Linked DNA regions of Homo sapiens: region 2 is linked to region 1. The links are contacts of gene promoters, found by promoter capture Hi-C in blood cells and fetal thymus (Javierre and others, 2016). All regions are on one chromosome and are shown on one strand. Each heading gives the region's core, a stretch centred on a gene start or on the middle of the fragment in contact. The rest is flanking DNA. Distances are from core to core; before and after follow the strand shown.

Evidence for each region. The method cuts DNA at HindIII sites, captures the fragments that hold promoters and counts their contacts. A CHiCAGO score of 5 or more calls a contact.
Region 2: a fragment that was not itself captured here is called in contact with the fragment with the promoter of PLEKHM3 in region 1 in 1 of 17 cell types (total CD8 T cells); the score reaches 5.6 in total CD8 T cells.

What each region holds. Positions count from the first base shown.
Region 1 is chr2:208,023,744-208,027,470 of GRCh38, forward strand. PLEKHM3 (pleckstrin homology domain containing M3) reads right to left here and starts at 1,784. Exons shown (of 8, transcript NM_001080475.3): 1 at 1,646-1,784. The HindIII fragment of the contact is 3,995 bases long and covers 1-2,738 here.
Region 2 is chr2:207,478,833-207,482,559 of GRCh38, forward strand. No RefSeq gene overlaps it. Among named protein-coding and RNA genes, the nearest start is that of CREB1, 49 kb to the right of the region's middle. The HindIII fragment of the contact is 1,328 bases long and covers 907-2,234 here.

The sequences.
Region 1 (3,727 bases), core at 534-3,033:
GGTCCCTGGTGCCAAAAACCACCAGGGGACCGCAGCATTAAACAACAAATCCCCATTGCCTGCCTCCCTCCAGGCCCTGGTAATCACCATTCCACTTTCAACACTGGCATATTTTTATTTTATATATTTATTAACAAACATGTATATAGCAATTACTATATGCCAGGTACGGTTCTAAGCCTTGAGCTCAGGAGTTCAAGACCAGCCTGGGCAACATGGCGAAACCCTGTCTCTACCAAATGTACAAAAATTAGCCAGGCGTGGTGGCTTGTGCCTATGGTTCCAGCCACAAGGGAGGCTGAGGTGGAAGGATCGCTTGAGTCCAGGAAGTCGAGACTGCAGTGAGCCATGATCACGCCACTGTACTCCAGCCCGAATGACAGAGTAAGACCCTGTCTCAAAATAAAATAAAATAAAATAAAATAAAATAAAATAAAATAACAATAATAAAAACCCTAATGAGGTCAATACTATTATTATTCCCATTCTACAGATTAGGAAACAGAAGCGCTAAGTAAACTGCCCAAGATTACACAACTAGGAAGTGACCAAGCAGGAATTCAAACTGAAGTAGTCTGGCTTTATAGTTTTTGCTATAAACCATGACATTGTAAAAATATTCATTGTAAAGAAAAACTCATCAGGAATTAGTATCATTTCTTCTATGTATATCTATCTATTGTAGGTGCAATTTAACCTAATATTCATCTCCTGTCTAAAAGACTATGTGACCAAGGTTACAAATGTCTACTGATATTTTTAGAGACTAGATATATAGCCCAGCTTTTGTTAAGGCATTTTCTTGAAGTCAGTCAGTCAAAAACTGCCTTGTATTTTAAGTATGCCAATTATAATTTACATGTAGTATTTTATAATAAAATACTTTATAAATACAAATCACAACTCACTACGATTACTTAAAATATAGAGAAAAAAATTCAGCTGTTTCTCTCTGGTCCCTTCCAAGGAAGAAAAAAGAAGAGAGAAATAAACTTCTAAATAAGTTTACAACAGCATGGCTCAATCTCAGTTTAACCTGGTAAATTCAAATTTGTCTTGCTTTGCAAGGTATACATCCAGACCAGTCTCAATTTGTCATCCAAATATATATCTCAGTAGTAATTTATTTTTGTTTAAGGGATGAGTGTGAGATTTTCTTATCTTGATTTTTTAGCTTAATAATTCTTTCCTACAAGACCAAACCATGCTTGTCATCAGTCATGTGGTGTCATTTACTATACATTAAAAACGGACAGAGTCGACAGAAAGAACAATCGTTTTCTGGAAGCCCCAGCCTGATGTAGGTTAAAAGCTCTGCTGGGGTTTGGTTTTATAATCCCCAGGCGGGGATGGCAGGGATACTAATAACGCACTCAACAAGATCACCTACTATTTCAACTACTTTCTCCTCCTATTACATACCTGATTCACAAAAATAAGCAGACAATGCATCATGTAATCTCCCCTCACCCATTAGCCATTGCAGTGTGGTACAATCTCCAGCACGTAATAAAAACCTGAGCATGCAAGAAACAGCAAAATCACTGCTATCCCTGGGAGCTGCTCGGATATTTACAATGCAGTCGTCCCCACCCCATCCCCCAAACTGGCCGGCCAGGCAGCACAGAAGCAGACGGATGCTCACCTGGGCCCCGGCTGCTACTCTCCATTCACCTGCGGGGCCTTCAGTCCGCTCCTGGAGGGGCTTGACTCCCGCAGCCTGCCGCCCGCCTCACGGTGACAGCCCGCCCGGGCGCTGACCATCCCGGCCCGGCTCTGTTTACAAGCGGCTTCTCGCGGTCCCACTCTGAAATGCTTCCGCCGGCGGCCCGGGCAGCCAGAGCCGGACACACAAGGTTCCAGGCCGCGAGGACGAGTCTTTCCTGCCCGAGGGACCCGGCAGCTAGGCAAGGCCTGACCGCACCCGCCAGGCCTCCTTATTTCTTTGCTTTCTTATATACAGTTCCTCTTGTACACATTGTGAAAGCAATGGCGTGTGTCGTGGAGTCTCCTCACTGCTCCACCCAACGCCAAAATGGGTGTTTGCGATTGGAAAATGTCACTTAGAACATGTCAGGATCGGGCTGGTTTTTAGCAGCTCCCTTGTCTAAGGGAATTAATTACTCAAATAAGTTCTTTCCAAAAGTGGGACTATTCTGGAGATTGCTTCTCATTTCCGGTTTTGGGGCTGCAGTGAAAATCCGTTTTCACTGTCCTTTCCTACGCAGGTTGAAAAGGGGTGGTTTTGAGGTGAGGTCTTCACCCCCACTTGCGGATTCCCAGCAAAATAGGGTGTGCGTGTGTGTGCACGCGGGCAGGACTGCCTGGTAAGACCGCCCACATCCCACCTGCAGTGACTGTGGTCGCTTTGCAGGGATATGCTGGTCTGATTGGACAGACCTTCCTTGCAGTTTCCTGTCTGTTTTCCATCATAGCACACTTCTTAGCCATTTTCTCACTTTATAAGTACACACTTATTTATCAGTTTTATTGGTTTTCCCACGCTCACCCATCTCACCTATAAACTCCCTGAGGGCAGGCACTATTTCAGTTTCACTCACCACCATCTAGTAGGCACCTAGCACAGGCCCAATGTATATATATCTGAATAAATGAATGAACAAAGGAATGATAAAAAAAAAAAAAGGTCAAAGGGGTCAGGGATGAAACAGAAATCTAAAACTCTGATTCCTCTTCCCACCTTCCCACCCTCCAGAAGATTAATAAGCAAATCTTTAAGCTTTGAGTTAAGAAAAAATTTCCTTTGGTTGATATTCAAAGTTTAAATAAGCTTTCTTTAAACCCTGCAATTTGAGGTACTTTTTTTTCTGTTTTGCTAGAGACAGGATCTCACTCTGTGCCCCGGCCAGAGTGCAGTCGCACGATCATAGCTCACTGCAGCCCTGAACTCCTGGGTTCAAGGGATCCCCCCAACTCAGCCTCCTGAGTAGCTAGGACTACAGGCACGCATCACCACAACGTGGCTAACTTCTTTTTTCTTTCTTTCTCTTTTTTTTTTTTTTGTAAAGGCAAGGTCTCCCTGTGTTGCCCAGGATGATCCTGAACTCCTGGCCTCAGGCAATCCTTCTTCCTTGCCTTCCAAAGTGCTGGGATTACAGGTGTGAGCCACCTCACCTGGCCAGAGGTACATTTTTTGTTTTGTTTTGTTTTAATTACCAAAAGAGAATATTTGCAGTATTCTCTTTTGCCTCAGGACTTTGTACATGTGATTCCCTCTGATGAGAGTTCTCACTCCTGGCCCATCCTCTTACTTAGGCTGGCTAATTTCTCTTTGCTCTTTAAGAAGCAGGTAACAGGTGCTTGGTCTCTCAAGTCACTTGCTTGGTCTTCTTCCAAGTGTTCTTTTCTTCTTTTCCTTCCCTTCATTACTACTCTAAAGCTTTTTAATAAACTTTCACTCTAAAAAAAAAAAAAAAAAAGGCCGGGTGTGGTAGCTCGTGCCTGTAATCCACGCACTTAGGGAGGCCAAGGCGGGTGGATCGCTGGAGGCCAGCGGTTCGAGACCAGACTGACCAACATGATAAAACCTCATCTCTACTAAAAATACAAAAATTAGCAGAGCATGGCGGTGCACGCCTGTAATCCCAGCACTTTGGGAGGTCGAGGCGGGTGGATTGATTGAGGCCAGCAGTTCGAGACCAGCCTGGGCAACATAGTGAAACCCTGTCTCTACTAAAACGAAAATTAGCCAGGCATGGTGGCACAC
Region 2 (3,727 bases), core at 321-2,820, 550 kb before region 1:
TGTAAGACAGTGGTTCTCAATGGGAGGCAAAGGCATTTGTTGAATGTCTACTATGTACTATAATATGCAGCAGGAAATGAAAGGTCATAATAGAAATAGATGAATCCTGACTTCCTTTTGATGGCAAGCCTCATTTTGACTAGTCAGGATATTTGCTGGTGATATAAAAATATTTCCCGGGGATTTTCTAATTTTTATGTTTTTAACTGTAGGAGAAGAAAAATATCTTTTCCTTTACCCATCATAGGTTGATGGCTGAGGTCCCCACGGCAATGGGAGGCAATATTGCTCCCCGGGGACATTTGGCCATGTCAGAATACACCGTTTATTGTCACACTAGAGGAAGGGGTCCTACTAGCATCTAATAGGGAGAGGCCATGGATGCTGTTAAATAGCCTATAATGCACAGGCAGCTCCTCCGTCCCAAACAGAGTTAGCAGCGCTGCGGTTGAGTAGAAAAATGCTCTAAGTTCACACATAAGTGTCATAAAGATCTTTGTGGGGTCACAAGGATGAAGGTCATCAACTTCATGCATAATGATTGAAATGGGAGGGGTCTAGCAGATCCAAACTACTTGATTATTTGATATTTCACAAAATACTGACTAATCTGCGTCATAATAACTATTGCTTACTGTCAAATGAGATTATTATCTCTTCTTAAAAGCCCATGTGTTTGAACTCTGTGGAAAGTAACACCACAAGAAAAAAAATCAGGGAGAGTTTGAAGAACTGTTTGTCACTGTTTACATTTCCCTCAACCCAGGAAGATGAGAGAAATTCTTGGAGCTTTCTAAATGCTTTGCTCGAATAAAGTGAAACCCACATCCACAACATCAAACATGCCAACAAGACATCACTCCCTTGAAATTCAAAGAGAAAAATACTCTCAACAAGAACTGTGGAAGCTTAGGGTAGTATAAATGTTTTAAATGATTTTCTTAAAAAAAAAACCTTACTCTGAAAACTAGTATCCTTAACAAAGGAAGATCAACTCTACATAAGAATTTTAAAAACACTCAGGTGGAAGTAGAACAAAAGCAAGAAGATATATTTAGACACAAATGCTGTAACTGTTTTCCATTGACAATCATTCCAGAAAATTTCTCCAATTAGGCAAATAAAGGGGTTTTAAAGGCATTCTCAGATGTGCTTATTAGTGTGGATTATTGTTTCTTTTTTGTTTGCAAACAGTATAAGACAAAATGGAGTTTCATCAGTCAAGGAGTTATTCAAGATAAAAATTAACAAATTACTTTTTCGGGTGAAAACTTTTACTCACTTTTTAAAATCTAATTTCCACTCTACCTAAAGATAAGTTATGAAATCAGTACTGTAGAAAGGGAGAAAGAGAGCACATATGTGGCACCTTTGCTTTTATTGTCTTCGAGCCAAATCCTTGACATTCATTATTAATATATTATGGTCATAATAGATATTACAATCAAAAATCATTTGCCCGATTGTTCCCTTTTTGACCCATAGGTCACAGAGTATCCTATTTATAATTCTGCTTTAGAAAGAAGTTTAAGAAAGGGACAAAATAGCCTCACCGCTTCATTGATTAACAAGTTGAGTTGAGTTTCTAAGCCCCTGACCTCACTCTAGATTTGGTGCAGCAGAGAGAGAGAGCTGGACACTCAGGAGAGGTCTGGGTAGAGTATTAGCCAAGGACAAAGCACTATACTGGCTCTCGTGTAGCTTAGATACCAAGTGAAAAAAATGATATGAGAATGTAATGAAAGCCTAATAAAATCCATTTCAAACCACTGCAGGGTAGGGTCAAGAGTCCTAGGGAGAGTCCAGACAGGGACACGTGTGACCGCTGAAATTAACATCTCACCTGGCAAGCCCCACTGCTTCACTTTGATTGGCACCCAGCTCAAGAGCTCATCACAGTGGTTCGAGGCATTCAACCTGCTGGGCTCCTTTTCTCACCAACTCAGCTGCTCCCCTTGTCCAACCCTCAGGGATTCTTTCTCTGGCCCAGTGAAAGATGACCAAGCAGACACAGCAAAATATGTTTTTAGAGGAAGAGGAAGAAGAAAAGGAGAAGGAGACCATGGAAGCACTTGTGAAAACATGTTTGGGAGAAAAACAAGCCTGGACTTCTAGACTGATACTATTTTGCTTCTAAATAAACCATTGGAAAACACTACATAATAGTAGCTAACTTTTATTGAGTGTTTACTACATGCCAAGCTCTTTCTAAATACTTTTCATATGTTAGCACAAGCTTCACATCAGCCCCTGTAGTTTGTACAGTTATTGCCCCACTTGTTGGATGGGGAAAGTAGGACACACACCCTTGGTTACACTAGTAAATGGCAGACCTGGAAGAGGAATCCAGGAAGCCTGACTTCAGAGCCCAGGCATGCTCCTAATTGTCTTCATCTCCCCTTGTCTATCCAATGCCTATGCTGGATGGCCATTGCTATGGCATGTTTTATAGAGAGAAAATGAGAAGCACAAAAGCTGTATGACCATCCACAACCCTGATGCTATGAAAACCCAAGTATCTAATGCCTCCATTGTTTTTCTGCACCACTGGGCATATTTAACCAAATAATTTGATGAAAATAGTCCTGGAACCAAATCCAGTGTAGCAGTACAATAATAGCACGAACAATAGAAAGCAAAACACAGATGAAGAATTGTGCTCTTTTTATCAGTTGGATTGTTCTCTAATCATTTCATATATATGAATGTCTGAAATTGCAACTATAAATCCCTCAAGGATAGGAATATATATTTCTTTTTAAATATCATAGAACACTGACATGTAGTATGATTGATAATTACTGGTTAAATGAATCCATTCATCAATCAACCACATTTGTTGAATGTCTACCACGTACTATAATATACAGCAGGAAATGAAAGATCGTAACAGAACTAGATTAATTCTGACTTCCTTTTGATGGCAAACAGGATAACATAAATACCTTCAAAATCAAAAATAAAAGTATTCTCCCTTTTTTTCTTATCAAGAGAACTCAAATCCATTTGGGGTGGCAAGGTACTCGGTTTAAAAACCCTGCCCTGACCTGGATTATTCCCTGATGGTTAGAGGAGGCCATGGAATTAGTGCTGGCTGATTAAATGTAAGCAAAAAATCACAGGGTGGAGCTGCCAGGAAAGCTTTTGAAAAAGGCACCAGCTCTGCAGGTCTCTGCCTCTCTACTTCTTCTTGCCTGGCATAAACACATGGCTGAGTTTCCAGCCAGGATGACTGTGGAGAAGCAGGAAGGAGCCCAGGTCCTAAGTGACCTTCATAGATACCAGCACCTGCCCTGGACTGCCCTGCTCTGGGTTCATGTCACATGAGGAAAATATCCACCTTCCTCGTATAAGCCTAGGAAGCCAGGTTTCTCTTCCATGCAGCTGAACCTAACCGCAATTGCTGATGACTGCTTATCTGGTCTGTCCTCCCTCGCCCCTTACTGGTTTTGAGAAGCCAGTAAAATTCTTCTAATTCTGTATATACAGCCACAGGCAGAGATATTTTTAAAGGGGAAAGAAACTCAAGGAGATACAATAATTACTAATTACACATTATATAACTCTTACAGGTTTGATTATTTTTGGAAATTATTTGGAAGAAAAACAGTAGATATTTTATAACATTTTTTTCTTCAAGGTCCCCATCTGTTTATTTTTTACACCTTTTTGATGAAATCACTGTTCATATTATTTGCCTCTTAAAAGTTTCTCGCATATGAAGTTT